2 separate regions of the Homo sapiens genome follow, and region 1 is linked to region 2. The links are contacts of gene promoters, found by promoter capture Hi-C in blood cells and fetal thymus (Javierre and others, 2016). All regions are on one chromosome and are shown on one strand. The core of a region is centred on a gene start or on the middle of the fragment in contact, and the rest is flanking DNA. Distances in the headings are between cores, read along the strand shown. Region 1 overlaps STPG1 (sperm tail PG-rich repeat containing 1). Region 2 holds the start of IL22RA1 (interleukin 22 receptor subunit alpha 1).

Region 1 (4,536 bases), core at 1,428-3,927, 240 kb before region 2:
AGTAACTTTCACCTTTAGCACCTCCTCCGCTTCTGCATCCCAAGACTTAGAGGGAATTAAAAGTAGCTCTCATCAGAGAAAGATCAGAATGACCAGTAGGAATGTGATTATGGGTGAGGCTGACCAAAAAACTCTGTGGGTCTATAAATTTTAGAAACTTCCTCATGACTGTTGAAACAACTACACCCAACCTTTTGAGAGACCTGTCATCTCTCTAAGTCTGAATGATATAAAGAGCTTTATTAGTATATTCCAAATCTTTGCTCCAGAATCTTCCACAGGACTGACTAGGAGAAGTGTATGAGGCAGGTGGGTGGAGAGTTTGATGGCCTCTCTGTATTTGCATGCTGGCAGGAGTGGCTCTAGAAAAGTTAGTAGGTGCTGGAGAGAAGTTCATAAATGCCGGCATTTGGCCAGATTGGAGGCCACAGGCCTGGCAAGTAAACCAAGGGGTGTGTAGTGTTGGTGAGTGAGTGTTACTGTAGCCACATTCTGAGACTAATTCTATTACGATACTTTATAAAACATTGCCTCTACTGGGACTTTTTTGGGAAGAAGTTTTTTCATTTTCAAAATGTAAGTTGTAGGTGTTCTAAACCAAAAAAGAGTCTATGATTGAATGGGCTTGCTGTTATCCCAGAGCCATGTCGCTCAACCCTTTCCCCTTTAGAATGGGCTCTCTGATCCATGTCATGTAGTGGAGGCTGACTGCTTGGGTAGGAATGCTGGTCCTCCGCCTGAATTAGCTGGGGAAGTTCAGCTTCCTCATCTGTAAAGTAGAGATAATCATAAGATCCACTGCTCAGGGTTGTCCTGAGGATTCAACACAAAAACCCACCAAAGGTATTGGTTAACTCTTGGCCAGAATGAAAAAGATGAAGCACGTTCAAAGCTGGGGTGACCTTACTTCTAGGAGCATCAGCAAATCCTTACACACTGCATGTAGCCACTTCTTATTAGAATTCGAGTTTGGCAGAGTTGGATACTCAAGGAACAGATCAGCGTTGGAGTTAACTTCCCATTACTGAAGAGGCTGGGGTTGAGCTGGGGCTTGAACCCAGGTTAGGCTCTGAACAACTTAGGCTCTGGACAAGAACACTCCCGCTTCTGGTGCTACACCCCCCCAAATGCTAGTGGGGGTCCATAAACCAGACGCTGAGGACCGTCACCACCAAGCACAGAGTGAAGTAGGGGGGCCCTAATGCCTTCCTTTTGGCTCACCCACTTTCTGTGTTTGTGTAGTTATTGATTCCTATCAAGTGAGAAAATCCAGGGCAATGTTCTCAAGCTTTTGACCATTAAATAGTGGGAAATTTTTTGTTTTATCAGACTCCAATACTTGCCATGCTATCTTAGGGGAAAGTGATGTTATCACTGAGTTTCTGTGACTTTTGTCCCTGTTCTTTTGACAAACATTGATTCTGTTTGTTTTTTAACTGAAGATAATTTATCGTGGCTTCCTGAAAGGGTGGGATTGGTTCTGTTAAACCGTGAAAATACTGTAGGATTTGATGAAAACAGTAATTTGGTGGAGGGTAGGAGGCACAGATGGACAACAAGCCCCCTGGAGCTTTGTTTGAAGCAAACTCGTTGCTTAGGCAGTTCAGATCATTTAACCTTAGAAACAAGATGTGAGATTTTACTCAGAAGAAAAGCCTAGGCTGAGAAGAGCATCTAAAGCTTCCTATCACATAAATTACCCAACAGCTGATGAGTCAAGGGTAAGTGGCCTGGAACAGGATTGGGTGGAAATGCATTTATGGCAAAATCATTTTTGCCAAGTCCCAAACAGAAGATGAATAATTTGAGTTAGTTTACAGAAGCGAGTACAGGTCTGAACTTGCGTTTTCCAAGGGAAGATCCTCAAAGCCTGAGGTCAGTTTATCATTGTTACTGCCAGAGTTTCGCCTTTTATAAAATGCATTTAGACCTTGTGCTGGTCACCATCTTTTTGACATCTGTCCTTCAGATCCACAATATTATGTGACAATGCTGATTCCTTTGGTTGTCTCCTTACAGTGCGCCCGATTGGACACCATCATTTCTAAATACCCTGCAGCGAATGCATACACTATCCCATCGGATTTTATTTCCAAGAGAGACTTTAGTAATTCGTGTTCCAGCATGTTCCAGTTGCCAAGCTTTATGAAAGCTCTCAAGTTTGAAACTCCTGCACCAAACTATTACAATGTAAGAACTCTGCCTATGCTTGCTAAATACAGATCGAATTAATGGTTTACTAAAATAAAAGGAAGAGGGGATCTTGGGGACATCGTATTTTAATGCAGTTGTCAAGCCAGTTAGCATTTGTTGACTACCCAATGGGTGCCTAAGGCTGTACAAGACTCTTACAGGGAATTTGCAGACCCCAGAGATCAGGATGGGCAACATGGAGGCCAGTATCAAGCTGTGGGGAGGCCACTGCCCTGAGAAACACATATTCTAATTACTCTTGTCCTGTAACCTTTCTGGGACGTAGTTTTCTCATCTGTAACAATGGGTGTATTATTTACCACTTTGTCTGCAGCCACTAATGATTTACTTTTTAGGTTCTTCTAGGGAAAATAAACTTTCATATCAGAAAATAGGTGTTTTAACAGTCGTGCCCTGCTGTGCCAATTATGATCGCTTTGTATTCACTGACGCAGAATGGCATGGATGGTTAAGAGATGGACTCAGGAAGGTTTGGTTTAGCTCTCATCTGTTGCCACTTTCTAACTGTGCGGCCTTCGGCAAGTCCCTTAACCTTTCCAGGGCTTAGTTTACTGATCTGTAAAATGGTGATGTATGTTCACCTCATCGTGTTAATGCAAATATTAAATGAGATAATGTATGCTTCATGCCCAGGACAGCACCAGTCACACAAGGACCACACAATACATGGAGATTGGTAGGGCTGTCTTTGTTAGTACATGAAGGGTATTTACTTACCCTTAAATACAAGCAAGTAAGTAAGTCACAGCCCCCACTGTACAATGGAATCAATTCTACTTGCCCTACAGGGTTACCATAAGGCAACGAACGTGAAAGCACTCTGAAGTGCGCAAGATATGAATTGTACTTAAGACATTAATGTTATGCCATTTTCCAAACTATTTTGGTTTTATACATTTATTATACCATTTCCTTTTTTCCTTCATAATATTGATAATTAATAATTATTTTTCTGACTACAAAAATCCTGCCCACCTTCTATGATGGATTCAAGCTTTTTTTTGAGACGGAGTCTTGCTCTGTTGCCCAGGCTGGAGAGCAGTGGTGCAATCTGCAGGCTCCACCTCCTGGGTTCACACCATTCTCCTGCCTCAGCCTCCCAAGTTGCTGGGACTACAGGCACCCGCCACCACACCCGGCTAATTTTTTGTATTTTTAGTAGAGATGGGGTTTCACTGGGTTAGCCAGGATGGTCTCAATCTCCTGATCTCGTGATCCACCTGCCTCGGCCTCCCAAAGTGCTGGGATTACAGGCGGGAGCCACCGTGCCCGGCCTCATTTAAGATTTTCTAGTAGCCACATCTAAAAAGAAAAAGGGACAGATGAAGTTAATTTGAGTAATATAGTTTACCCAACAGATCCAAAATATTATCATTTCAACACTAATCAATATAAAAGTTATGAATTTTATATTTGAGGAAGACTATTTTCCTTGTAGTGAGTCTTTAAAATCCAGTATGTGTTTTATTCTTCCAGCACATTTTAATTTGGGCCAGCCACGTTTCCAGGGCCAATAGCCACATGCAACCTGTGGCTACTATACTGGGCAGTCCAACTCCAGGCAGTCTTCCCTCGGCATAATCAGAGCCTGAAAATGATGAGGAGGAGGAGGAGGAGGATGAAGCACTTCTCATGTACTAAGTGCTGGTCTAAGAGTTATGTATTAATCATATTTAATACTCACAAGTGAATCCATAAAGTGGATTATCTTGTTCCCAGTATAAAGAAGAGAAAGCTAAGGCTCAGAGAGGTGAAGGGACTTGCACAGTTACCCAGCTTGAAGGCATCATTTGCACTTCAGTGGGCACCAGTGGATGGCTGGGGTGGAAAGCTGGGGAATGATCAAAGTCACCTCATTCCAGCCCTGACAGGCTTCCCTCTGTGGATCCTGTTGCTCCTCTGTGCCAGGCTGGTGATACAGCTTAGATTCCAGTGGGGAATTCAGAAAAGAACAGGTAAACAAACAAAATAATTACAAACTGTGGTCAACTTTGAGGGACAGCTGGAGCTTGAGGGAGAATATGTGGGAGATATGGAGGTTGGCAGTACCAAGTCAGCCTTCTCTGACTTGGTGGTCAGAGAAGGCTCCGAGACTGAGACCCAAGGATTGAGGAAGAGCCAGGGTTGGAGAAAGAGCATGTGCCAAGGTCCTGGTATAGCAAGGAGCCCAGCCCACGAGGACCTTCAGGAAGGTTGAGTGGCTAGTGTAGGATGAGCAAGAGGAGAAGGGAGAAGGGGGCACCAGACAGACACCGGCCAATTCACACAGGGCCCTGAAGATCCCAGGAGGAAGTTCACATTTTGTTCTCTGGGTCCTAGGAA
Region 2 (5,015 bases), core at 670-3,169:
CCTATTTTTTTCTTAAACTGTTAGAAATGAAGTCTGGGTGTTCCCACATTCCTTAGCAATCCAGGTGTCTTCCTTCCCGTTAATTCCTACATAACCACAGGCCCTCGAAACTACAGGATGCCCTTTTCCTCCATCAAGTTCCTTCTTCCAGTGCTTCTGAGAGGCCCCAAGGAACACTTTCGTGTTCCACAGACCTGTTGGGGCTGCGTCTTGTCCTCTCGGCCAGCCACTTGGGACCAAAGCCTGCTCTTCTCCCTAAGCGTCCCTTGTAACCTGTTTTTCTCGCTGTAGCTTCCCCACACTGCCTTGTCATCAAAGTCATCAAAAACCCTCTATCCATCATGGTTCATTCAGTAGCACAGAAACCTCTCCAGTCTTTCAGACCAAGGGACTTTAATGTAAAGGAGCTCGTCACCCAGAGGATGAAGGAGCTGGGACACTAATCAGGACAGACAGTTCAGAGATTTCCCCAAAGCAGGAAGCTGTGCCATCCCACCAACTGAAAGGAAAGATGAGGGGAGAAGGTGTTGCCAGAGCCAGGAGCTGGCCTCCAAACAGGAACAAGAAAGACATAAGGGGTTGCCTGGCTGATGGACTGTCCAGAGGGAGCCAGAACTGCAGAGGGATATGGCCATTGCTGGGGAAGCCACTCAAACAGAAAACGAGGGGAGAAATGCTCTGATCTCTGCCTCCCCAGTCTTCCCCCAGGGGCTAAACCTATCAGAAAGCAGTTGATAAAGGAGTCTAGAAAATGTAGTTTCCTGCAGTTTCAGGAAATGACTGGCATGGGCCCTACCTTAATTCCTCCAAAGCACAGCTTAGATTTGGCTGTTTTGTCAAACAAACTTTAGCAATCAGGGCTGATAACAATTACAATTCAGGAAAGAAAAACTTAAACACCGATCTCAGCATATCACAGCCCATTACACCCAACCCGTTGGCAGGATCCCTGCTAAAATTTCGCTTGCCTTTGTGTGCTTGGGGCCAGGCAAACTCTCCCCAGGGGCAGGACCCTCCAATCGTGTCCACCCTGACCAGAGTCCAGGCCCCAGGGCCCTTCTACCTTCTCCAGGCCCTGCAGGAAGGAGAAAACCATTTCCTAAACACCTGTCCCTTCATTCACACGAAGCTCATGTGCAGATCCTGCCCTACGTGGCAAAATGATGGGAGAGCAGCCTGAATCTTCATCGTCCCGAACCAAAGCCCCATTCATGAAGTTCAGCCCCATCTCTAGCACAGCAGAAAGAATCACTGAAGTTTGAGTTCCATTTTTTTTCTAAACTTTTGCAGATCCTAGACCCAAAGGCTCAAGGTAAGAGCGGCTGGGCTTCCTCACCCCCAACGGCCTCTCTAGGGGAGAGCTGTTCCCAAGCCCACCCCAAGCGTGGGGACCTGCCTTGATATGGAGGATCAAGGAGGAGCATCGGGTGCCCTCAATCTCCTCCTGCCAGAAAAGCAAAGGAGTCACAGCTTTTCCTTTGCTGCAAGAAACATTCTGGGACCTTTTTTTTCCCCCTCTGTTGTCCAGTTATTTTCATCAGGGTAAATCCCCTAGGAATAGAATTATTAAAGCAAAAGATATGTATGTGGTGTAGGCTTTTGATCCACAGTGCCAAATTGCTTTTTGATAAGGCTGCATATCGTGGATTATTCTTGCCTTTTCTGCCCCTCAGCTCCTTGATAAACCACTTGGGATGAATCAGCCACCGGACCAGATAAACAAGCCAGCCTGTTACTATTGCTGTTTTCTGCAAGTCGGAAGGGAACTCCCTTAGATCCCGCCCAGAACCTGGAATTCCAGAGCACACAGGGCCAGGACACCTTTGTACCCCTGCTCCCCACCGGCACAGGTCCCACCCACCCCCTTCTCCCCGCCCCATGCCCGGGTGGAGCCAGCTGCCAGGGCGCCAAGACTCCCAGCCCTCTCTCTGTGCACGGCAGAGTAGAGGCCAAGGGAGGGCTCTGTGCCAGCCCCGATGAGGACGCTGCTGACCATCTTGACTGTGGGATCCCTGGCTGGTGAGTGCCCATCTACCCTGTGGTCAGACCTCCCTTATCCCAGGGGCCAACGATCAGGGTCATCTCCCCAGCACCCTCCCCAGCCCGAGCATAGCCAGTTTCAGTTTCTCCCCTGCTAGGGCTGAGCAGGGTGCCGGGTGTTCACGGAGAAGCAAATGCCCAGCTTAGTTTGCTGGGGGCATGAGAGGGTGCCTCAGACCCTGGGTTCTTCCAGGGACCCAAAGGACCCTCGGGTCTTGAGGGATATAGCCAGCTGTCTGAACTGGGGGTGCTGGATCGCTGCACCTCAGTGAATGGAGAATTGGCCTGGAGGAGGCAGACATCCTTCGGTCCCTCAAACGGTGTCGGCACAGTTTGTACCATCCTTCCTCTGCCTCTCACTTGGCACTGGCCTGACAGGGGAGGAGGAGGAAGGACCGGGGGAAACGAAGCTTGAGTTCACTATTGCCTCCCTCCATGCCCCTGCAGGGCCTCTTTGGCCCCTTTTGTTATCATAGATCTGAAAGAGCATTTTCTCCTAGAGTGGCCAGGTCTGCTACATTAATAGGTCTTAAGACACAGGACTCATTTGGAAACAGGTCTTAAGGGCATAGTGTTCAAAGCCAATAAAGTGAGCGGAGTGGGGGGCTCATCATTATGGAGAACGTTACATGAGACCCTAGACTCTCTCTCTGCTCTCCTGGTGCATTGCATGAAATTCAGGGAACTTCCTTAGGAAGTCAAAGCATAGTCCTGATTGAGGATGGCGAGCAGGTATGGCCTCGGCCAGGCCCTCCTTGCTCAAGTGCAGGACGAGGCCCACGAAAAGGCAGAGCTTCCCACCTTCTCTGCCACTGTCCCGCCAGGGCTGCCTGCGTCTCCAGGGCTTCCAGCTCTGTGGGACCCCCTCCAGTCTGCTTCCCAGCATCAAGCTGGGCGTTCCAGGAAGATGTGAGGCACCCCCTTGAGGCACCAAGACACGTCCCTTTAGACCCTCAGCCATACTGGTTAGAAATCCTAGAGGCTCCCAGCCCTTTGAGATGGGGGACCCCAAGAAATAGCCCTTAGGAGATTGTCAAGGGTCAGCTGCCTCGCGCTGCACACACCGGGCCCTCACCCCCCCAATCTTAGGCTGACTCCAGAGCATGTGGAATTGTTTCTTGTTTGTGTATTTTTCCTTAGCTTCCCAGCTGGTTGACAGAACATTGTTTTTCCACATGAATGTGAAAAAACAAGTTGCCTTTTATAAATCCGCCAGGCTGCCAGGCTCCACACAACACATGTCTCCCCAGATTTCACAATATAGACTTTCACCCGGGAAGTGCCGAAGCAACACAGGCTGAGGAATGGATGATAGATTTGAGGAGGAAAAGGAGCGAGGAGGGTGGGAGAAGAGGGGGAGATCTTGTTAGACCCTGACATCCCTAAAAGACAGGAGTGGGCCTAGGTTCACTTACCCCACTTCAGGAAGCTAACTGCAGTTCCCTCCTGAAAAGTGGTGCCAACCTCCACGTAGCCCAGGGTCCTTTGCCTTGGCAACATGCCCCCACCTCAGCCACCAGCCTCCTTGCAACCCAGATGGGCCCTCTATTTCCCACCCAGAACACTGACCTCAACCAGCAACCGTTCCCGCTGCAGACTCTACCCCAAGCCTTGATGGAGCCTGGCTTCTCAAAGCCCACCCTCACCCTTCTGCCCTGACCCACCACCCAACCAGAAGCCACTGTTCAGGTCTGACCTTGACTGGACTCCTTTCCTCAACTTTAGACTCAGCCCTGAATCCAGGACCCCTCCCTCCAGAACTGACCCCAATTCCACCCAGCCTCACATCCAAACAAGATGTCAGCTACATCCTAAGGCTCCACGGCACAGCCGTCACCTTGCGTAGAGGCAGTAGACCCCTCCCCGCGCCATCCCTAAGGCCCCATTCTGGGGACTCCAGGAAGCCTGAAGACATTTTGCAGCTGCTGGGCCAGAACCCAAATTCAGAGAGGAGGGCAGCCTTCGAGGTTGGCCAGAGGATGTGCAGCGGGGTCGGACCATTCTTCCGTCCCCATCGGTCCTCGCCAAGCCTGAGGACCCCTCTTGTGTGTAGAGTTGGAGTAGGGGAATCAATAACTGTCTGCTCCCTCACACCTTGGGCCCACTGGCAGTCGTAGACGTGTCTGGGGAAGGAGAGGCACAGACATATTCAAGACACACACCCAGGCCGCAAGGCCTTGACCCAGCTGGGGTTGCTTAACATTTTCCCACCTGTTTATTTCCCACGCCAGCCGGCCAGGGCCTCCGAGCTCCGAGCCAGCTGCCAGCTTGGGCCGCCATTTTCCCGCAGGCTCTTGCTCTCCACAGCCCAAGCCTGGGGGCCTGAGGGAAGGGTTTTATAAGTTAAGGACTCTTTGTTTACAGTGCAGATTGCTTTAGAGGCTGCAGCCCCTCCCCAGCCCCTTCCTTGAGGCTCAGGCCCTCACTGCCCTTCCCTTAACAGAAGCAGAAGTGGGCTGGACAAAGACCTAGCCTGGAAGAGAGGGCTGTGGACTCTTCAATGGCCAGCTTCTCTTCTCCTCTCTCTTCTCCTCCTCCCTAAATTCATCCCTTTATCAGGTGCTCAGGTCCCTGAAGCCCCCCACCCTCATATAAAAGGGTGAACAAGATAGCCCCCTCCCTACAGAGCGAATGTCTTCCCTTCCCAGGTCTCCTCCCTTCAGACTCAACACATGTACATAGGGGCCTGTTAGACACTAAACACATTCACAGACGCCAACCCGCTCTATCCGCCCCACAACCAGTCTAGCACTGGGATGAATATTGTAGGTTCTTCACATGCTAACTGTGATGCTGGGCGGCAGCTCTCTCTGAGCCTCAGCTCATTCATCAAATGGGGATAGTGATAGTGGGCACGTTGTCGTGAGGATTTAATGAAGGGAGGGACTTGCCTGAAAGAGGCTGTGCACTTCACAAATGCCAGTGGCTGCTGTTGTCATTGTTGTTTGTCTTTCGGTAAATCAAACTATATCCAT

The links. The method cuts DNA at HindIII sites, captures the fragments that hold promoters and counts their contacts. A CHiCAGO score of 5 or more calls a contact.
Region 1: a fragment that was not itself captured here is called in contact with the fragment with the promoter of IL22RA1 in region 2 in 13 of 17 cell types (M0 macrophages, naive B cells, total B cells and 10 more); the score reaches 11.3 in M0 macrophages.

The regions. Positions count from the first base shown.
Region 1 is chr1:24,377,307-24,381,842 of GRCh38, reverse strand. It overlaps STPG1 (sperm tail PG-rich repeat containing 1), which reads left to right. Exons shown (of 9, transcript NM_001199013.2): 5 at 2,020-2,190. Among named protein-coding and RNA genes, the nearest start is that of STPG1, 34 kb to the left of the region's middle. The HindIII fragment of the contact is 1,067 bases long and covers 2,144-3,210 here.
Region 2 is chr1:24,140,044-24,145,058 of GRCh38, reverse strand. IL22RA1 (interleukin 22 receptor subunit alpha 1) reads left to right here and starts at 1,919. Exons shown (of 7, transcript NM_021258.4): 1 at 1,919-2,019. The coding sequence starts at 1,977. The HindIII fragment of the contact is 5,016 bases long and covers 1-2,452 here.